Regions from separate parts of the Homo sapiens genome. Here all the other regions are linked to region 1. Evidence: promoter capture Hi-C in 16 types of primary human blood cells and fetal thymus (Javierre and others, 2016). All regions are on one chromosome and are shown on one strand. Each heading gives the region's core, a stretch centred on a gene start or on the middle of the fragment in contact. The rest is flanking DNA. Distances are from core to core; before and after follow the strand shown. Region 1 holds the start of ZNF583 (zinc finger protein 583). Region 2 has its middle 9.5 kb from the start of ZNF776. Region 3 overlaps ZSCAN4 (zinc finger and SCAN domain containing 4). Region 4 holds the start of ZNF211 (zinc finger protein 211). Region 5 holds the start of ZNF416 (zinc finger protein 416). Region 6 holds the start of ZNF772 (zinc finger protein 772). Region 7 holds the start of ZNF749 (zinc finger protein 749).

Region 1 (3,033 bases), core at 337-2,836:
TAGGAGTTTATAAAATATTTTCAAAGACAGATTGAAGAATAGGAATAAGAGTATGATATTGTGAAATATATATTTGATCTTCCTAGCATAGAACTTCTAAAATCCTTAGAAACTACAAAGTAACAGTAAAAACTCATTTTGTATGCTAATGAGTTGACAGCTGGCAACCCCTATAGAGTTTCAGGATGGGGACTGGTTATGGAAAGACCAAGACATGACTAGAAGGTTGGGACATTCAACCCCACCCCCAACCCTAAGGAGGGGACGGGATTTTAATCAACCATGCCTATGTAATGAAGCCTCTGTAAAACTCCCAAAAGACAGGGTTTAGAGAGCTTCCACCCAGCTGAACATGTGGAGGTTACTGGAAGGTGCAACACCCTTTTTTCTGTACTTTGCCCTACGCATCTCTTCATCTATATCATTTGTAATATCCTTTATAATAAACTAGTAAACATAAGTGTTTCCTGAGTTCCGTGAGCCACTCTAGCAAAATATCGAACCGCAAAGAGGGGGTGGTGAAAATCCCAATTTGAAGGTGGTGGAGTCAGATGTTCCAGAGGCTAGACTTTAGTGGGAAGTGGGAAGGGGGAGGCAGGCTTGGGGACTGAGCCCTCAGCGAATGGTGTCTGACCCATCTCCAAGTAGACGGCGTCGGAATTAAACTGGAGGACACCCAGCTGGTGCCCGCTGCAGAACTCACTGAACTCATTGCTTGCTTGAGATGTGTGGGAAACTCCCCTATATTTGGTCAGAAAAGTCTTCTGTTATGATTAGTTGTCGTTGAGATAATAGAAAAAAATGCACCTTGCGTTTTTTCCACTGATTCAGAGGGCATAACTGAAAGAATGAAGAACTGAAAGAATGATCTTAATACTCTGCTTCGCTTTTCTTGATAATACGCATTACTTCCCAATATGCATCAGTGTCCTTTATTATTAATTTTTTCCTATTGAATTCCTCCCGCATTAGAATGCTGCTCCATGAGGTGGGGATTTTGTCTGCTTGTTCACTGCTGTGTGCCCAGGGCCCACGACAGTGCCCGATACAGCAGGCGCTCAATAAGTGGCGAATGAAAGACAGGGCAAGGCGGAGAGAGAAGAAACAGAAAGGGAAAGAGAAAGCCCGGGCCGCCAGAGCGCTTAATCACACGTACATCCTACCGGGCCCCTCTCCAGCTGGCTCAGGCTCCACACTGGTCCTCCAGCTCCCTTTTCTCAGCGATGGACTCACAGCCCCACCCGGAGCGCTGGAGCGCGGACGCGGTCACTGCGCGTGCGCCTCACCGCGCTGGCACCCCGGCCTGGCAGCCTTTGGGGACCTGAACCAGCTGCGCCTGCGCAGGTGGAACGGGTGGAACGGGTGGGGGAGCGGACAGTCGAACGGCCTGAGAGGGCTCAGCTGGTCCGGGTGGGATTCTGAAGGCCAGCGGAGGTGGGCTTACTAGGGAAAGGGGCGCAGCAGTAACTACCCGCAACTGAGCGGCGGGATCTGCGGCCGCCCGGGGCCCTCGGCCAACATCCCAGCATCCTCTGCGCCGCGCCGGCCCCGGACTCCATTTCCCAGCGGCCCCTGCGGCCTGCCCTAGGGCTGCGGCGCCTTTGTGAGCGCGGCCGCCGGCCAGGATCGAGCCCTGGCCCGGGCCCTGGCCCAGCCCCGGCCTCCAAGGACCGCGCCGAAGGAGGTGCCCACTGGAGGGAGGAGGCGGTGAGGAGCGCGGGATGGAGCTGACGCCGGGAGCGGCCATGCCACCATGTGTGGGACCGTGTGTGACAGTGTGTGAGAATGTGTGAGACATTAAGGAACCGTGTGTGACAATGTGTTTGACAGTGTGGAATCGTGTGTGAGACCATGTGTGACTGTGTGAGAATTTGAGACCGTGTGTGACAGTGTGAGAATGTGAGGCCGTGTGTGAATATGTGTGTCAGTGTGAGACCATGTGGGACAAATGTGGGACTATGTGTGACAGTATGAGACTGGGTGTGAGAATGTGTGCGACAGTATGAGACCGTTGCCCCGGTGTATGCGGGAGCCTTTGACAGTATATGGGACCGTGTGGGACTGTGTGACACTGTATGTGCTTAAGACCACGTCACCATGTGTGAGACTGGGAATGTGTGACAGTGTTAAACTGTCATTATGTGTAGACCACGTGTGAACAGTGTGTAAGACCATGTCACTGTGTGTGTGACCTGTGTGTGTGGGATAATGTAAGACTGTGTGACAGTGTGTGTGACTTTGTGAACAGAGCTTGACCGTGTGTGTAGGATTAGATGAGACTGTGACAGTATGTGAGACCATGTCACCGTGTGTGAGGCTATGTGTGGTTGTGTACGGTGTGTGGCTGTTGATATGGGACCACATGAAACTGCGACAGAATTTGTGTGACAGTGTGTGAGACTGTGTCACTGTATGTGAAACTGTATGTGAACAGAGTTTTTGTTGTTGGACTAAGATTGTATGTGACAGTGTTTGAGATTGTGCATGACAGTGTGTGTGATTATGTGAGACTGAGGGAGATGGTGTGACTTAGCACTGTATGTCATCCCGACAGTGAGTGTGACAGTGTGACTGAGAATGGCCTTATATGACCCATTGTGAGAGCAGGGCGGGCTACAATGTGGGGGCATGTCCATAGGTTGCCAGGGGAGGTGCCAGAATGAGAAACTATGTGGTTTGTTGTCTGTGATTTGTGTGGGCAGGAAGCTGTGTGGGTGCTTGGAGATGCTGGTGTGCTCTGGGGTTTGGGAGACTGCTGTTGTGGTGGAGAGACAGAAAGATTGAGATAAAGGGGAAAAGATGGAGAAAGGGAGGGACGAGAGCTGAAAAGGGAGAGACAGACAGGAGCCTCAGCCTTAAGCCTGAAAAGCTGACCACGCTGGCTGCTTGTCCTCTGGCACAGTAGTTTTTCCATCCCTCTCAGTCTCTGGGGGCACGTGAGGAATTTAAAAGGAAAAAGGAATGGGAGACCTACCATGTGCTGGTTATGAAAATAAATGACAGAAAGATGAAAATTAAGCACTGTGCTCAATG
Region 2 (3,033 bases), core at 273-2,772, 1.3 Mb after region 1:
GAAAAATAAGTACTAAGAAGAATGTTTATAGCTATAAGTGCCTACATTACAAAAGTAAAAAAAAAAACTTTAAATAAACAACCTAATAATGCATCTTAAAGAATTAGAGATGCTAGAGCAAACCAAACCCAAAGTGAGTAGAAGAAAATAAATAGCTGGGCGCAGTAGCTCACGCCTGCAGTCCCAACACTTTGGGAGGCTGAGGCAGGTGGATCACCGGAGGTCAGGAGTTCGAGACCAGCCTGACCAATAAGGTGAAATTCCATCTCTACTAAAAATATAAAAATTAGCCAGACGTAGTGGCAGGCACCTGTAGTCCCAGCTACTCAGGAGGCTGAGACAGGAGAATTGCTTGAACCCGGGAGGTGGAGGTTGCAGTGAGCCAAGATCACGCCACTGCACTCTAGCCTGGGCAACAGAACAAGACTCTGTCTCAAAAAAAAAAAAAAAAAAAGGAAAATAAAATAATAAAGATTAGAGCAGAAATAAATGAAACTGAAACAAAGAAAACAATACAAATGTGTTCAACAAAATGATTTTTTTTGTTTGTTTGTTTTTTGTTTGTTTTTTTTGAAATGGGGTCTTGCTCTTATCACCCAGGCTGGAGTGCAATGGCAGGATCTCTGTTCACTGCAACCTCTGCCTCCTGGGTTCAAGCAATTCTCCTGCCTCAGCCTCCCAAGTAGCTGGGATTACAGGCACCCACCACCATGCCCGGCTAATTTTTGTATTTTTAATACAGACGGGGCTTTGCCATGTTGGTCAGGCTGGTCTCGAACTCCTGACCTCGTGATCTGTCCACCTCGGCCTCCCAAAGTGCTGGGATTACAGGCGTGAGCCACCACGCCCGGCCGAGAAATTGGTTTTTTGAAAAGTAAACAAAATAAAAAATCCTTTAGCCAGACTAAGAAAGATAAACCAAATAAAATAGAAGTGAGAAAGAAGACTTTACAGCCAATACTGCAGAAATTCAAAGGATCATTAGAGGCTACTATGATCAACTGTATGCCAAAAATTGGAAATTATAGAAAAAATGGACAAATTCCTAGACACATATAACTTACCAAGATGAATTATGAGGAAATCCAAAACCTGAACTGACAAATAGCAAGCAATGAGATTGAGGCTGTAATAAAAATTTTCCCAGCAAAGAAAAGCCTGGGACCCAATGGCTTCACTACTGAATTTTACCAAACATTTAAAGAACTAACCCCAATCCTACTCGAACTATTCCCAAAAATAAGAGGAGGAGAAAATACTTCTAAATTCATCATACAAGGTTGGTATTACCCTGATACTAAAATAATTTTTTTTCTATTTCCATTTCAATAAGAAATAAGAAAAAGTAAAACAAAGACATATTTGAACCTAATATATTCTTCAGTGATATCATTCCTTTACTGTAAGGAATACTTTTTTTTTCTTTTTTCTTTTTTTTTGAGATGGAGTCTTGCTCTGTCACCAGGCTGGAGTGCAGTGGTGCGATCTCGGCTCACTGCACCCTCCTCCGCCCAGGTTCAAGTGATTTCCCCTGCCTCAGCCTCCCAAGTAGCTGGGACTACAGGAGTGCGCCACCACGCCTGGCTAATTTTTTTGTATTTTAGTGGATACTGGGTTTCACCATGTTGACTAGGATGGTCTCGATGGCCTGACCCCGTGATCCGCCCGCCTCGGGCTCCCAAAGTGCTGGTATTACAGGCGTGAGCCACCACGCCTGGCCGGAGTACTTGTTTTTCAATACCACAGGAGCTATGAGCTGGTCCTCCATTTTGTATCAAAGAATGTGTCCCCAGGTGACAAGATGCAGATTCCAAGACATTGAATCAATATGATGCCACCATCGCTTTCTTTCTGTTCTATGACATCTTTCTAGTCTTACCTTACTATTTCCTTGGCTCTCAGTTGGTTTTTCCTGAGTTCTCAGAAATTGAAATAATACACACTTTGTAGAAATAAGAATTTCATGTTAGTCAAGTCTCTAGGATAGCCATGGGCTCCACTTAATTATCTCAGAACTTACAGCCCCATGTCCTCTGCTCACTATCCATTGAGATTTATGTGTTCTCAGACTTCACAGAAACTTTTCTAGCTACTTATGTCATTCTCAGTGGTAACTTCATTTATCCACAATATTAACTAATTTTCTCAGTCCAAGCTGTTTTCCAGAGGTAATCTCCAGTCCCCATGCCGAAACTATCATTGTACTTACTGCTGAAATGATAGTTCCTTCCCAGCAAGAAGGTGAGATTATTGTACCCAGAATCTTTTCTCAGGGTTCAAATATCCACTTTCCCCATGGCAGGAATGCTGACACTCCAGCCACGGTTTTGTAAATGTGAATTAGTAAATACCAACTATTCCCAGGTGAGTGTTGTGGGCAGCAAGCTACCCAGGTGCTGAGGCAAGAGACCGAGGGCATGAGCCATTCCAGTATAATAAAATATATAAAACAACAAGAGTTATACTAGATCTAGATCATAGATGTAATTATATATGAATATCATTAATCATTAGTTTGTAGCAATTACTCTTTATTCCAGTATTATAATAATACTCGCTCTATAATCATAACCTAGAAAAAACCAGGCCATACAGAGATAGGAGCTGAGGGGACACAGTGAGAAGTGACCAGAAGACAAGAGTGCGAGCCTTCTGTTATGTCCAGACAGGGCCACCAGAGGGCTCCTTGGTCTAGCGGTGATGCCAGCATCTGGGAAGTCTGGTCTAGCGGTAGCCTTAGTGTCAAGGAAAAACAACCGCTACTTAGCGGACCGGGAAAGGGAGTCTCCCTTTTCCCCGGGGGGAGTTTAGAGAAGACTCTGCTCCTCCGTCTCTTGTGGAGGGCCTGACATCAGTCAGGCCCACCCGCAGTTATCCGGAGGCCTAACCATCTCCCTGTGATGCTGTGCTTCAGTGGTCACGCTCCTAGTCCACCTTCATGTTCCATCCTGTACACCTGGCTCTGCCTTCTAGATAACAGTAGCAAAATTAGTGAAAGTACTAAAAGTCTCTGATATGCAGAAATAATGGTGT
Region 3 (3,033 bases), core at 315-2,814, 1.3 Mb after region 1:
AATTCAATGTCCATGTGACTTTATTAAACATAAGAGCTTGTAGTAACAAGAATAACACCATCAGAGATGGTGGACAAAATATGTGATAGCCAATACTTGAGGGAGCTTGTGAGAGCCTGTTAAGGACCACTTTTCCAAAAAGTCTTCTGTTACACAACAGATTCAGATACAACAGTGATCTGGCTTTCTTTACAGGTCCACGTCCACATGCAGGGACAGGAAGCTCTCTTTTCTGAGGATATGCCCTTAAGAGATGTCATTGTTCATCTCACAAAACAAGTGAATGCCCAAACCACAAGAGAAGCAAACATGGGGACACCCTCCCAGACTTCCCAAGATACTTCCTTAGAAACAGGACAAGGTAAGTCAGGTGAATCTGCACAACTGAGGAGTGTTCTATGTGGACCCCTTCTTAAGTACAACTTCATTGAGTGTCTATTTTCACAGGATATGAAGATGAACAAGATGGCTGGAACAGTTCTTCGAAAACTACTCGAGTAAATGAAAATATTACTAATCAAGGCAATCAAATAGTTTCCCTAATCATCATCCAGGAAGAGAACGGTCCTAGGCCTGAAGAGGGAGGTGTTTCTTCTGACAACCCATACAACTCAAAAAGAGCAGAGCTAGTCACTGCTAGATCTCAGGAAGGGTCCATAAATGGAATCACTTTCCAAGGTGTCCCTATGGTGATGGGAGCAGGGTGTATCTCTCAACCAGAGCAGTCCTCCCCTGAGTCTGCCCTTACCCACCAGAGCAATGAGGGAAATTCCACATGTGAGGTACATCAGAAAGGATCCCATGGAGTCCAAAAATCATACAAATGTGAAGAATGCCCCAAGGTCTTTAAGTATCTCTGTCACTTATTAGCTCACCAGAGAAGACACAGGAATGAGAGGCCATTTGTTTGTCCCGAGTGTCAAAAAGGCTTCTTCCAGATATCAGACCTACGGGTGCATCAGATAATTCACACAGGAAAGAAGCCTTTCACATGCAGCATGTGTAAAAAGTCCTTCAGCCACAAAACCAACCTGCGGTCTCATGAGAGAATCCACACAGGAGAAAAGCCTTATACATGTCCCTTTTGTAAGACAAGCTACCGCCAGTCATCCACATACCACCGCCATATGAGGACTCATGAGAAAATTACCCTGCCAAGTGTTCCCTCCACACCAGAAGCTTCCTAAGCTGCTGGTCTGATAATGTGTATAAATATGTATGCAAGTATGTATATTCCTATAGTATTTATCTACTTAGGATATAAGATATAATCTCCTGATTATGCTTTCAATTTATTGTCTTGCTTCATTAAAATGTAAGGCTAAGGAGAGCATGGAATTTGTCAGTTTTGTTCACTAAAGTATTCCAAGTGGTTGGGAAAGTGGAACATTTCCAAGAACCAATAAATTTCTGTTGAATAAATGAATGAATCCATAATGTTGATATCCTTTTTTAAAAAAAGAGATGGGGCCGGCCGCAGTGGTTCGGCCTCCCAAAGTGCTGGGATTACAAGCGTGAGTGACCGTGCCCGGCTTTTTTTTTTTTTTCTGAGTCAGAGTCTTGATCTGTCGCTCAGACTGGAGTGCCGTGGTGTGATCTTGGCTCACTGCAACCTCCACTTGGAGGTCCAAAATTAATCATAGACACCAAACCACAGATCCAGAAATCTCAGAGAAGAGGAAGCAGTGTAAATACCAAAAACCTACAACTAGGTACATCATATTCAAACTACAGAAGGCCAAAGATAGAGAAATTCTTGAAAGAAGATGGAGGTGGGAGAGGGCACTTTACCTGCTGAGGAACAAGGATGAGATTTAGAGTAGAATTCTTGTCAGAAACCAGATAATCAAGAAGGGAATGGAGTGAAAGTTCAAAATTTAGTACAAAAAATAAAACCCCACCCTAACATCTATATCCAGCAATGTTATCTTTCAAAGGTGGAGGAGAATAAAGCTTTTCTCACACAAATACTAAAGAATTCATCCCCAAAGGTCCTGTTACAGGGTCCCTGCATTACATGTGAAGCAATCCAGTAGTTATTTGAAGGTCGAATTAGATTAAAGATGTTTAGGCTGGGCACAGTGTCTCATGCCTGTAATCCCAGCACTTTGTCAGGCTGAGGCGGGCAGATCACTTGAGTCCAGGAGTTTGAGACCAGCCTGAGCACCAAGGCAAAACCTCATCTGTACAAAAAATACAAAAAAACAATTAGCTAGGTTTGGCGACATGCGCCTGTAATCCCAGCTATTTGGGAGGCTGAGATGAGAGGATCACTTGAACCTGGGAGGCAGAGGTTGCAGTGAGCTGAGAACAGACCACCGCACTCCAGCCTGGGTGACAGGCTCAAAAAAATTTTAAAAAGATGTTTATTGTAACTTCTAAGGGAGGAATTAATATTTTTTTTTTTTTTTGCTGGCAACTTTGATTAATTTAAACATACAAAAATTAGCTGGGCATGGTGGTGTATGCTTGTAACCCCAGCTACTCAGGAGGCTGAGGCAGGAGAATCGCTTGAACCCGGGAGGCAGAGGTTGCAGTGAGCTGAGATCGCGCCACTGCACTCCACCCTGGGAGACAGAGCAAGACACTGTCTCAAGAACAAAAACAAAAAAGCCCAGGCGCAGTGGCTCACCTGAGGTCAGGAGTTCAAGACCAGCCTGGCCAACATGGTAAAACCCTCGCTCTACTGAAAATACAGAAATTAGCCGGGCATGGTGCTGGCGCCTGTAGTGCCAGCCACTTGGGAGGCTGAGGCAGAAGAATTGCTTGAACCTGGGAGGTGGAACTTGTGGTGAGCCAAGATCAAGCCATTGCACTCTAGCCTGGGCAACAGAGTGAGACTCCGTCTGGGAAAAAAAAAAAAAAAAAGAACTGATAAACAAATTCACCTGTGTAGCTGAATTCAAAGTCAACATGCAAAAGTCAACATGTAAAACTCATATGCCCTTCCATACACTAACAATGAAAAATCTGAAAAGGAAATTAAGAAAACAATATCATTTGCAATAGTAATGTATATGGTCAAATGATCTC
Region 4 (3,033 bases), core at 1-2,500, 1.2 Mb after region 1:
CTCAAACCTGTGTTGTTCAAGTGTCAACCTACTTAAGACCTCAAACACCGAAGCCCCTCAGTCGCCCTGGAAGGCAGCAGACGCAGCTTCCTAGCGCTCCCAGCTGTCTGCACACAAGGCGCCCTCCGTCGCAGCCTGGGGGAGACTACATTACCCAGAAAGCCTTGCGTCGAGCGGCAGTACTTTGATCCAATGAAAATCCAAGACAGGGGCATTTCCGTGTGGGTCTACCCCCGCCCCCCCCAGGGCGGGACTTGTGGCGTCTTCGCAGCGGTCATTTTGGCTGCCCTCCCGGAGGTCCGTTCTGTCTGTCAGCCGCTTTGGTACGCTGCATCGGGATCGAAGTGACGGACCGTGAAGGCGCGAGAGTCAGGTCTGAGGGTCGGGGGCAGAGCCGCCCGCGAGGCCGGCCTGGGGATAGCGATGCTCGGGTTCCCCCCGGGTCGCCCGCAGCTCCCGGTCCAGCTCCGCCCACAGACTCGGATGGCGACCGCACTGAGGGACCCGGCTTCGGTGAGCGCTGCGATCTCCGGGCCTCCCCCGGCCGAGATTCTTAAGTCCCAAGTGAGAGGCACCAGCTCACGTCTCTGTAGCACAGGGTCGGGGACACTGAGGCTCGTGGGTGGGGCCCCTATTTCTGACATCCGATGTGGTGGGCAGGGGGACAAGGGACAGGACCGGCGCGTGCAGGGCTTGGACGGGCAACCGAGAAGGGGGCATTCAGGAACCTGGGCTCCACATTGTTACTGCAGGGAACAAAGTTTGAGAGAGATCTACCTTTATTCTTAGGGCCGTGGGAGCCATAGAGAGCTTGCGCAAACGAGAGACACCATCTGAGTTAAATTTGAAAAATCCTCTGCAGGCTGTTCAGTGGAAGAAAAGACTTTAGAGATGGATGAGGACGTTGAGGCAGAGGGAGGTTGAATATTTTTCCAAGGCCACACAACTGGTGAGAGGCAGCACTAAGGACCGAGGCGCACAGGTTAGACAGTCGACCCAAAGTTACGTGGCTCTGGGCCGGGGCAAGGGTACAGGGAAGGCCTGTGCCCATGGAGCACTGCCATGATCACATTCCTCTGAGGCCTGCGTCTTTCCACAGGTTCCCATAGCTACAGAGGTGCTTTTCAAACTTACACAGGTAAGTGGAGGTATCTCAGCCCCTCACTGGTCTGGAATGTCCCTCCACCCTCCCCAGACAGATATTTTCTTTAGATTTGTGGTGTCATGGGACTCACCTACCATTCTCTCAGCGTTTGGTTTGGGAACCCTGGAGAATCCCTGAGCTAAGGGCCCTGAGTCCAGGCCAATGTTTCCATTTGGAGCAGCCAATGGAAAGATGGGTGAAAATTTATGATAGAAACAGGTAGGTACCAGCTTTTGGAACTCCTTGGAGGTGAGGCTGAGCTGGTTCAGGGAACTGCAGGTTTCCTTTATTTCTGTGAAGTTTGGCATCTATTGTGAGGAAGTTGGAGTTTGGGATCAGAGGAGGGAGATTTATCTAACCCAAGTGTTGACAGGATACAGAGTGGAAAACAGAATGAACACAGTGACTAATGGGAATGTGAAGAGACAGCAGGGATCAATGACACCAAGGTCTGGTGTCTCTTCTGACTTGGGGATCTTGGGAGGAGAATGTATGGGGACATGGATTTTGAGTCTTCCAAATTGAGACTGTTCATGGTTTCATCAATCCCTATTATGCTAGGGAAGTGTGACCTTTGAAGATGTGGCCGTGTACTTCTCCTGGGAGGAATGGGATCTCCTTGATGAGGCTCAGAAACACCTGTACTTCGATGTGATGCTGGAGAACTTTGCACTTACGTCCTCCCTGGGTAAGGCCCTCATACTCACCCTTGTGCCCTGGACTAGGCTCTCTGTTTCTCCTTTTCCTCAGGAGCAGCTCTGTCCTCATATCTGGACTATAGGCACTGCCTCCTTCCCCAGTTCCCTGGGTAGATGTTGTGGACTGAGTGCAAGCCTACTTCCCTTATCGTCCCAGCCCAAAAGCATCTTGGGTAAGGATTTGGGATCAGTAGTCTTACAGTAAGCCTAATAGATCCCACCTGACTTGCCTTCTCCCTGTCTGGTGACTTTCTAGATCTATGGCACCCAGTTTTCCCTCCCTTCGTGTACCTAACATTTATTTGTGCTAGACTGTGACATGAAATGTAGTCACTGACATTGCCACTATTTACACAGACTGTTCTTCAACCACCAACCTTTCCATTAACAGCAGAACACTCTAACAAATTGTGCCGCAGAGACATTACACAGACTGTTCTTATAGAAACCTCCTTCAAGGTGTTTTTCTTTGTTTTTAATTGTAAAATATATATAACAAAATTTACCATTTTAATCATTTTCAAGTATATAGTTCAGCGCATTTAGTACATTCGCATTATTGTGCAACCATCACCACCATCCTTCTATAGTACTTTTTCATCTTATAAAACTGAAACTTTGTACTCATTAAATAATAACTCTTCCCATCCCCTGGCAACCACCATTTTACTTTTGGTCTGTATGAATTTGTCTACTGTAAGTACCTCATATGAGTGGGATCACACAATATTTGTTCTTTTCTATCTGGCTTACTTCACTTAGCATAATATCTTCAAGATTCATCCATGTTGTAATATATATCAGAATTGCTTCTTTTTAAGGCTGAATAATATTCTTTTGTATGTATTACAGTTTGTTTATCCATTCCTTCATCAGTGGACACAGGTTGTTTTCACCTTCTGGCTGTTGTGAATAATATTACTGTGAACATGGGTGTACAGATACGTATTTGTGTCCTTGCTTTCAATTCTTTTGGGTATTGGCCCAAAAGTAGAATTTCTGGATCATAAGGTAATTATTTTTAATTTTTAAGGAACCACTAAAATTGTTTTTCATAGCAGCTGCACCATTTTACATTCCCACAAGCAGCTGACAAAGGTTCCAGTTTCTTCACACCCTCACCATCACTTGTTATTTTCTGATTTTTTTGATAAGTCATCCAAATTGGTGTGAGGTGATATCTCACTGTGG
Region 5 (3,033 bases), core at 218-2,717, 1.2 Mb after region 1:
CTCAAAATCCAGGCTTCCCTACTTAAAAAAACTGATCTAAAATCCAACTACCACCTCCACAGCCACCACACAAGTCCAGCCACCAGTAACACTCACCTGGACTACTGCAGCAGCCTTCTTCACTATCTTCCTATCTCATACCTCACACTCAGCCTGTTCTCTCAGCTTGGCCACACACAGGGAACCTGATGAGACCTGGATCAGATCACATACCTCCTCTGCCCCCAAACTGTCATTGCTCATCACACACTCCAGAAGAAACACCCGACAACTGACAGCCATTTTTTGTCTGATTCCTGCATCCCAGCTTTCAGTTCCCATGAGAAAGAAAACAGCTGTAGTTTCCTAAACCAGCTCAGCCTGACCTTCAAGCACTTGCTCATCTGGTATCTAAGCCTGAGACAACGTTCCACACCTTACTTTACTGGTTCCCAGCAATAGGAACCATTCTATACCAGCTTCCAGCCTGGATGTATGACCCTGGGACTGATGTTTGTTCAGGATTCCTAGAACCAAGGACCCAAAGAGTGCCAAGAGAAGAGTCCCAGAACACAATCTCAGAGACAAACACTGGGGTCAGCATCAGTGAGGGCCCGAAACACTCTCCACTCACCTGTGTAAAGCCCATAAGTTTAGCTTCTGCAGTCACGGGAACCTGCGGGAAGAGGAAGGCTATGAGAGGCAGGTAACTATGGTGGAAGCTCCATGGGCTGATGCCTCCTTGTTTCCCTGCGCAGCCCTGGAGCCAGGTGACTTGGTGATGACTAAATTATTATTGCTCCTCAGTTCCGTGTGACTCTTACCTGCTGTGGGACCTTGCACAAGGACTCAACTTCCCTGTGCCTCGGTGTTATCCCCCTTCCAGGCTGTTCCAACTCTGAGTAACTTTAGAAAAAATTTGAAAAGTCTAACTCAGACCATGTGCCTCGTCTGTTCACAACCACCCATGGCTCTCAGCGTCTTGAAAAGAAAGAGCCTCATTTTACCATTCGGGCGTGAACGTTACTGGCTCAATCGTCCCAGCAAGATTCACAGAAACCGGCCCCTCCGCCTGCCACACCCTCCACAGCCCACGACACCAGGCTTGTAAATGGGAGCCCCACCCGCGAGGGCCTCATAGTCCTGGACTCTAGGGTCGGGCTGCAGGGACGCAAGCAGGCGCCCCTCATGCAGGGTGTTGGATTTCCGGCGGAGAGGGCAGGTGAGGCCCGGGAGACGCAGCACTCACCGAAGTCGAATCCCTAAGCACGGCCGCCGCCATCGGATTGTGAGCGGAGCGGGGCCGGGAGCGGCGGGCGACCCGGGGCGGGAACCCAGGCACGGCTGCCACCAGCGCCAGCGACCCACCGGCTGATGCGCAGCGGGGCGACCCCCGCTCTGTGCCGGAGGCAGCGTTTCTAACTCAGGCGGCGTGGGCCGAGGTAGAGAACCACCAAAATTACCATCTCGGAGCGGTGCCGGAAGTCCCGCCTTACCGTATGCAACAAACGGAGACAGGTCCGTTCCTGAACGTTGATTGGCTCCGCGTCTTTGCAGCTTGGCGCTCGGCATTATGGGTAATGTAGTTCTCAGAAGCCCAGGGTTCCGGTGCCCTCCCTGAGATTCACCCGGAACAAGGGCTAAGCGGCCCGCGGAGGGCGCTAGGAAAAGGCGCGACACCAAGAGCGAGACAGGGACTTGCTGCTCCTTAAAGGGGCCGCTGGCCGATTTCCGCAGTCCCATACCCACTGAAGGGAGTGTCTGGGTTAAGATAAGAGGTTGTAGAGACCAAGGTTCTTATTAAGCAGATGAAGCTTTCACGCAGCAGGCTTCAGAGGGAATAGATTGTAAATGTTTCCTATCAGACTTTGAAAGGTGCCAGACTCTTAATTCTTTCCTGGACCATGAAAATAAAAAAACCCTGGAGAGGAAAGGGGATTCTCAGCAAAATGCAGATTCCACAAGACACACCTTTGCAGGGCCTCTTCAAAATATGTCAAATAAATAAAGTTTAGAGTAAAATACTTCAATTCCTTTCAGGGCCTGCTATCTGTCATGTAATGCTATACTACAATCAGGCTGGAATTCACTGTCTTATTGCTACAAGAAGTCTTAAAATCTCTGTTTTAATGTTAATGCTGGTCAGTTGTGCCTGAATTCCAAGGGGAGGAGGGCAAGTCTGACCCTCACTTCCCATCACGTCCTGAACTAGTTTTTCAGATTAACTTTGGAATGCCCTTGGCCAAGAGGAAGGATGCATTCAGATGGTTGGGGGGCTGGGAATTTTATTTTTGGTTTACACTTCTCATGCCTCTTGGAATCTCTGAACCACATACAACGGCCATTTGTTGAGTAAAAGCTTCCAATGCAGGAAACTGTCTCTTTCAGCCTCATGCTATACACCATTAAAACAGTAATTACTGGCAATAAGACTGGGCTTTCTTAAACATACAGGATCTCACAGACCATAAGCCTATGATCCTTCATACCAGCTGCCCATAATACTTTTGGTTTTGGAAGCAGCACCCCATAACCTCAGCATGGCTACCAAGGCCTCCTTAAGACAGGGTAGAATGAATAAGATCTAGTATTTGATAGCACAGTAGAGAGACTACAGTCAACAGTAATTTATTGTACATTAAAAACAACTAAAAGAGTATTATAACTAGAATGTTTGTAACACAAAGAAATGATAAATGCTTGTGTACCCTGATATGATTATTACACATTGTATGCCTGTATCACAATATCTCACGTATCCCATAAATATACATACATACTATGTACTCATAAAACTAAAAATTTTAAAAGACAGATAAATGGCAAGCAGGTAGATGAAAACATGCTTAACATCATTGATCACTATAAAAATGCAAATCAAAACTACAATGAGATATCATCTCACTCTAGTTAAAATGACTTTTATGCAAAAGACAGGGAATAATGAATGCTGGCCAGGACAGAGAGGAAAGGGAAACTTCATACGCTGTTGGTGGGAGTGTAAATTAGTAAAGCCACTATGGGGAACAGTTTGGAGGTTCCCCACAGAAGTAA
Region 6 (3,033 bases), core at 195-2,694, 1.1 Mb after region 1:
CAGACGTCATCAGTCTACACTTCTTTCCATATGTACATCACTCTTTGGATCACAGTTATCTCACAACTCTGGCTCTCCACCATCACTTTCCTGGCTCACTAAATGCACTACCACTGTGAAATGAATATTCTCTTTTAACTCCCAATCTACATAATCATCTTTAAGCCATTTCAGGATGATTCCCGCCCCCTTGCTCTTGGTTCCCACCAGACATGACAGAGACCTGCAATTTCTTGAAAACTCCCTTCTCAGTCTCACCTCTAAGTATTTTGCACAGGCTGGTTCCTGTGCCTGGAACAACCTTCCAACCTTATTCCAATGGTTGGCAGAAATGGAAACCCCTCCATAAAACCCCTGGCCCGGAGTCAGGACCCTGGGCTTGGGGCTTCTCCAGAGTCCTCAGACCCAAGAGATCGGAGAGTAGCAGGAGAGTGTTCTATATAACACCACAATGCTGGAGAGCGTATTGGGTGGGGGTGGGATCGGTGAGAGCATGGACATTCTCCCCTCACCTGTATAGGGTCCACAATTACTTCTGAGTTCATGGGAACCTGTGGGGAAGAGGGAGACTATGCGAGTCAAGCAATCTTGAAGGAACCCCAAAGGCTCAACCCCATCCCATATTCCTACCCAGTTACAATGTGCCTGGGAGCTGAATGTCTACCCTCTGTGCTTCCATCTTCAAGGATACCTCTTAACTGTGTTAGCTCGGAACAGTGCTCATTATCCGCCCCCATGGCCAACAAGAGTCTGCCCTCCATGAGCAGTCTATGGAATACTTTTTAAACCCTCGGATTCTGGCTCTCCTCTGTTCAGAACCTTCCATGGCTCCCATCACCCTCAGAATAGAGACCCAGCTGCTCAGGATGATATTCCAGGTGCAATCACTTATAAAGCGCTCTGATCCTTTCAGACACTAAAGGCCCAGTTTTCCCAAATGCTCCAGCTGTGAACCATCTCTGAGCCTTTGCATACACTGGTCTCTCTGCCTGGAACGTCCTTCAACTCGTGCTGTCAAAATGGGTCCCAAACACGAGCGCCCCCACTGTTCTAGATACAGGGGCCTGAGCTGCAGTAACCCGAGGAATCGTTCATTCGAAGCTTTGGGATTCAGAGATGGGGGTCAGCGCGCAGACTCGCAGACGCAGCACCCACCTGTGCCGGGCCCATCGGCTCAGCCGCCGCCATCAGGCCTGTGGACTACGGAAGGGTGGCGACAAGTGCAGGAACCTGGGATCAGCTGTCCAGGGCCCAGCCCAGCGGCTAGGTCACTCAGGCAGCGCCACTGTCAAGCCTCAGGCCCACCTCTCTTCAGGGAAGAAGACACTCTCTCACGTTTTCCCTTTTCTGTCACCTCAGGTCTGACATTGCGTTCTGGAAACTAAACCAGTGGATTAATGGAAAAGCAAACAAAATGTCCACCCGAGGATGGTAGAGGAAGTCCCGCCCTGACGTTGGTGAGGACCAACGGAAACGCCTATTTCCTGGGTTTTCATTGGCCCAGAGCCGCCAAGTTTCCTGGGTAATGTAGTTCCCACGGCACCAACACTAGTAAGCGGCGTCTCGCTTCACCTCCAGGTTAAAAGCCCAGAGAAGACCGCCAGGGGCGCGTGGAAATGGTGTCCCTCGTCTCCAAGGCCCAGACGGAGCTTAGCTTCCTCTTGAAGGAGCCATATCTGTATTTCTGGTGAACGTCGTGTTTGACATCAAAGGAATGTTTAGAGACATGATTTCAGCCTTCCTTACGCAGAGAATGCTCATCAAAAAATAAAATGGACACACCATACACTGACGTCACTCAGATTTCTATGGCTGGAAGTTAACAAATATTGTTTTCAAATGCGTGTAGCCTGATGCTCCAGAGTTAGTTTGGCGAGCCTCAGCATTTTCTGTCAGGCACAAGAAAGAAAAGACTCCAGACACCATGATGTGGAACGTGGAGTGGGGATGTTTGGTGGCCTTGAAGTAAGTGAATAACCCTTCTGTCTGTTACCTCAGAAAATATTTATCCTGCTTATACAGCAGTGATTGTGTCAAACCCAACAAGTAATACTCTTGTTCAAGATAGTATTTCATACTCCATATACAGAGATGTATTCAATATTTTAAGTGTTTTACAAGTGTCTGAAAAGACAGAATTCATCAAATGTCATATGGCAATGAAAAGGGCAACATGAACACTTTCTGTAAAGAAGAAATAACCACCAAACTAGATGTCTATACACAACAAAATGTCTTTTATGGAAGTGTGATATAAAACTATTTGAAACCAAAAATGATAAATGTAATGGAAATACATTTACACAAAAAATAATGTTTAAAATAATACTCAAGGCCAAAGAAAGTTGATCTCAGGTGAAAAGTCTGCAATGAGAGAAGAAATGAAGATGAAAAGAAGTGCATCTTTTGATTAAAATAACAGCATATTACAGTGTAAAACATAAGTAGATATACTTATTGAGTTAGAATGATGGAATTCCCGTGCGTAACCTCAACTACATATAAATTGAAAGGAGGCTAGTTGCTCAAAGTTTTAAATTTTTTATATTTCCAAGTGGAAAGCAAATGTATTACAATCCTGTATGGCACGCTAATGTGTTAAACGTTTGTAATTTTTAGCCTAAATATAATAAATACAGTCAGCGTATATACTTTTCAAACTAGAAGAGGAAATGTTTGGAATATAAATAAATAATCAATAGAAAGGTAAAATAATAGTAAAATAAGTGGAAGAAGTGAGGCAAAGAAAAGCACAATGTAGGATATATTTAAACTGTCAACCTAAATAACAGAGATTCTTCAAAGATGTTGAGTTCATTCAGGAATGCACAGGGGATTTGCAAATCCAGGACATGCAGGCTATAGGGACTATAGGCATATCCAGAGAGCTTGAAACAAGGAGAAGCTTTCAAAGGCAAAAGGGAAAAGTATATATAATTTGTTTTGAGATAAAAAGAACATTGGTCACAGATGTTTATGGCAGAGGTTAACACCAGTTCATTAGTGGAGACAATCTGTCAGGCAAGTGTTCTA
Region 7 (3,033 bases), core at 203-2,702, 1.0 Mb after region 1:
TCAATTGCAGTGAGAGAAAAATAGCTCTAAATGCCGACTTTTTGTAGTGCATTGTAAAAAGCTGAATAAAGCCAGGGACGGTGTCCTGTACCTACAGTCCCAGCTGCTCTAGAGGCTGAGGTGGGAAGATAGCTTTAGCTCAGGAGCTGAGGCCTTATCATAAGGCCTTATAAGACTACCTGGAGGCTTCATCTGCATGATATAACCTTGGTCTTCACAACCCCTTGTCTTTTTTTGTTTTTGAGACGGAGTTTCGCTCTTGTTGCACGGGCTGGAGTACAATGGCGAGATCTCGGCTCACCGTAACCTCCGCCTCCCGGGTTCAAGCGATTCTCCTGCCTCAGCCTCCCGAGTAGCTGGCATTACAGGCATGTGCCACCATGCCCGTCTAATTTTGTATTTTTAGTAGAGATGGGGTTTCTACATGTTGGTCAGGCTGGTCTCGAACTCCCAACCTCAGGTGATCCGCCCACCTCGGCCTCCCAAAGTGCTGGGATTACAGGCGTGAGATACCACGCCCGGCCCACAACCCCTTAACCCAGACAACCATTTCTACTGATTCCAGGTCTTTAGATACAAACTCTTTCAACCAATTGCCAATCGGAAAATCTTTGAACCCACCTGACCTGGAAGCCCCGCCCCTCCCTTCCAGTTGCGCCTTTCCAGAGGAATCCAATGTACATTTTACATGTATTGATTGATGTCTTACGTCTTCCTAAATTGTTAAAACCAAGCTGTAGATGGGCCACCCTGGGCATATGTTCTTAGGATATCTTGGAGCCGTGTCATGGGCCATTAGTCACTCATATTTGTCTCAGAATAAATCTCTTCAACTATTTCACAAAGTTCCACCCTTTTCGTCGACAGAAAGATATTCCTCCTTCAACTCTCCATCACATCCTGTGTGGGTCTTTTCTTTCTTGTCCCAACAGAAGCACACTAACGATCAAAAAAAAGTCTCCAGAGCCTCAGTATGTGTGTACTTGACAAGCACAAAAGAGCTGACCGCTATGAATGGAGGACCAGTTCATTATGGTCAGCCATGTCGCTTCTGATGTTCTTCCTTTCGGGACTTGCTGTGCTTCAGAGAATCTGAAACGACAGGTCTCTGAAATATTTCTCAGACTTGTCCTAGACTGCTCTCCGGGAAAATCTGGTTACTTGCAGTTTAGGAGTCAGCAAAGCCCCTCCACGTCCTTAAGAGCCCCGGAACTGCATTTCTTAACGCTCCTCCAGGAGCCTCCAGCTTTTTTCCGTAAGGTCCGCGCGCCCAGCATTGTGAGGCGAGGCAGGCAGCAGCGTGGGAACTACATTACCCAGAAGACACTGCGGGCGACACAGGCAGCAACGTGAGAACTACATTACCCAGAAGACACTGCGGGGGCAGGGCAGCGAGTGTAGCCATTGGTCTAGCAGAGAGACGACTAATGAGGTCTCAATTGTGTGGGCGGGACTTCTGGCGGCGCCCTCATGGTTGCGTTAGCATGGCTACCTAGGGATCTGTTCACTGATTTAGAGGGTCCCAGAGCTCTGGGTCGGGACTGAGGTGAAAGAGCGGAAAAACGCGAGAAGCGGTGTTCCTTCTACACAGAGGCTAGAGTGCGGATCGGCTGAGTCGGCTGCAGGCGCCCCTGCCTCCGTCAGCGTCCAGGTGACCGCCGTTCCCGCCCCGCTCTTCCCTGGGTGGACTGGAGGAGGCCGCGCCGATGAACCTGACCGAGGTGCGTGCAGCGTCCCAGGCCGCCCCGCCCAACCCCTCCTCCCAGTGCTGAAGTCCCAAGGAGCCGCCCTGCAGGTTAGGCCCTTGTGTCTCTAAGAGAGGGGCGTTCTTGTGTGGGGTGCCCGGGACTGGGACTGCGGTGCGATGAGGCGGGGGAGCTCCCGTCGGAGACCGACACGTCTCTGGGGCTTGGAGGCACTGCAGAACGGGCGGCACTGGGGAGCCCGAGCGTCTTTGTCTCCAAGGAGCAGAGGTTGAGGCGGAGTCTCCCCTGGAAGGGCAGTGGAGCCGCAGAGAGCCATAGAGGGCTGTGCAGGGAGGACGAATGGGAGGGTCACGCCCAGAGTTAGAAGTTTAAAGTTGGGGAAAACAGGATGTTGAACGGGGGCAGGGGGACCGCTGAGGAGACCCCTTGAGTTATGGTAGGGCTGGGCCAGAGGGGTTGCAGTAGAGGGGAGATGTGATGAGACTCTGGATGGATCTCAGAGATAGGGTCAACAGGATTTCCTGCTGCATCAAACATAGCTGTGAGGGAAAGTCGGTAGTGAATGGTGTCTTCCATAGGTTTTGTTTTGGCCTGAAAAATCTGAAAGAATGGAATTAGAGATATCAGCTTAAGGAGCGGGTTTCAGACAGAAGATCCTGGGTTGGATTTTGGGCGACATCACATGGGTAGGTGGACGTAATTTCCAAAGGTGAGGGAAGGTAGCTGGCCTGGAGCTTTAAATGAGTTAGAAGTTGTGCACTTGAGAAGTTGGCCTGTGGATCAGATTGAGAAGGAAGAATCCTACATCGTTTTTTCATATGGGCTGAGGTAGGGGAGGGCTCAGATTTGGAGGAAAGACCATGGTAGGGAGGGCATCTCTGATACTCCCTGCAGAAGGGAGCAGATATGGGCTAAGAGTCTGGTCTGTTTCTGTTGAAAAAGAGGCCTGGATGGATAAGGAGTTGCCCTGGAATACAGAGACTGAGGCATGAGATAATTGTAGTCACTCCACCCTTCTAACTCAGCTGGCCCTGAGGGCCACTCTTTAGGGAACAAGATAAGGCCATGCAGCAACTGGGTCCAAAACTGGGCAGGGCTTTCTCACATCCTCCACCACAGTTAAGGGCCTCCAGCAAGCTCCCTTTACTGCATTATATGGCAGGCTGACCTGTTTGCTGAACGGACCAGTAACTGATTGACTGCTCAGCCCCATCCTACAACTCATTAACTTAGGGATGTAAAAACAGGTAATTGACTTAAACAGTAAGGAACTATATCAATCTTAAATAACCAAGCAAGTCAGAATCTAGTTTAAAGAGAGTTTATT

Evidence for each region. The method cuts DNA at HindIII sites, captures the fragments that hold promoters and counts their contacts. A CHiCAGO score of 5 or more calls a contact.
Region 2: a contact is called between a fragment that was not itself captured here and the fragment with the promoter of ZNF583 in region 1, in 1 of 17 cell types (neutrophils). The highest score is 5.3, in neutrophils.
Region 3: a contact is called between a fragment that was not itself captured here and the fragment with the promoter of ZNF583 in region 1, in 1 of 17 cell types (non-activated CD4 T cells). The highest score is 6.2, in non-activated CD4 T cells.
Region 4: a fragment that was not itself captured here is called in contact with the fragment with the promoter of ZNF583 in region 1 in 1 of 17 cell types (total CD4 T cells); the score reaches 5.2 in total CD4 T cells.
Region 5: a contact is called between the fragment with the promoter of ZNF416 here and the fragment with the promoter of ZNF583 in region 1, in 7 of 17 cell types (total CD8 T cells, monocytes, total CD4 T cells and 4 more). The highest score is 8.9, in total CD8 T cells.
Region 6: a contact is called between the fragment with the promoter of ZNF772 here and the fragment with the promoter of ZNF583 in region 1, in 6 of 17 cell types (naive CD4 T cells, monocytes, M1 macrophages and 3 more). The highest score is 8.0, in naive CD4 T cells.
Region 7: the fragment with the promoter of ZNF749 here is called in contact with the fragment with the promoter of ZNF583 in region 1 in 4 of 17 cell types (non-activated CD4 T cells, total CD8 T cells, total CD4 T cells and 1 more); the score reaches 7.6 in non-activated CD4 T cells.

The regions. Positions count from the first base shown.
Region 1 is chr19:56,402,746-56,405,778 of GRCh38, forward strand. It overlaps ZNF583 (zinc finger protein 583), which reads left to right and starts at 1,587. Exons shown (of 5, transcript NM_152478.3): 1 at 1,587-1,707. RefSeq lists an enhancer at 1,011-1,150 and a silencer at 1,611-1,820. The HindIII fragment of the contact is 8,045 bases long and covers 1-3,033 here.
Region 2 is chr19:57,735,845-57,738,877 of GRCh38, forward strand. No RefSeq gene overlaps it. Among named protein-coding and RNA genes, the nearest start is that of ZNF776, 9.5 kb to the right of the region's middle. The HindIII fragment of the contact is 6,253 bases long and covers 1-3,033 here.
Region 3 is chr19:57,677,719-57,680,751 of GRCh38, forward strand. ZSCAN4 (zinc finger and SCAN domain containing 4) reads left to right here. Exons shown (of 5, transcript NM_152677.4): 4 at 196-361; 5 at 448-1,434. The coding sequence ends at 1,187. Among named protein-coding and RNA genes, the nearest start is that of ZNF551, 2.7 kb to the right of the region's middle. The HindIII fragment of the contact is 774 bases long and covers 1,178-1,951 here.
Region 4 is chr19:57,632,924-57,635,956 of GRCh38, forward strand. It overlaps ZNF211 (zinc finger protein 211), which reads left to right and starts at 245. Exons shown (of 4, transcript NM_006385.5): 1 at 245-513; 2 at 1,100-1,138; 3 at 1,706-1,832. The coding sequence starts at 424. RefSeq lists an enhancer at 5-54 and a silencer at 495-564. The HindIII fragment of the contact is 4,311 bases long and covers 1-3,033 here.
Region 5 is chr19:57,577,444-57,580,476 of GRCh38, forward strand. It overlaps ZNF416 (zinc finger protein 416), which reads right to left and starts at 1,468. Exons shown (of 4, transcript NM_017879.3): 1 at 1,229-1,468; 2 at 614-655. The coding sequence starts at 1,261. RefSeq lists a silencer at 1,158-1,377. The HindIII fragment of the contact is 6,514 bases long and covers 1-1,791 here.
Region 6 is chr19:57,476,122-57,479,154 of GRCh38, forward strand. ZNF772 (zinc finger protein 772) reads right to left here and starts at 1,445. Exons shown (of 4, transcript NM_001144068.2): 1 at 1,156-1,445; 2 at 513-551. The coding sequence starts at 1,188. RefSeq lists enhancers at 646-1,169, 760-1,959. The HindIII fragment of the contact is 1,804 bases long and covers 1,100-2,903 here.
Region 7 is chr19:57,433,873-57,436,905 of GRCh38, forward strand. It overlaps ZNF749 (zinc finger protein 749), which reads left to right and starts at 1,453. Exons shown (of 3, transcript NM_001023561.4): 1 at 1,453-1,721. The coding sequence starts at 1,707. RefSeq lists enhancers at 1,038-1,337, 1,968-2,017. The HindIII fragment of the contact is 4,352 bases long and covers 1-3,033 here.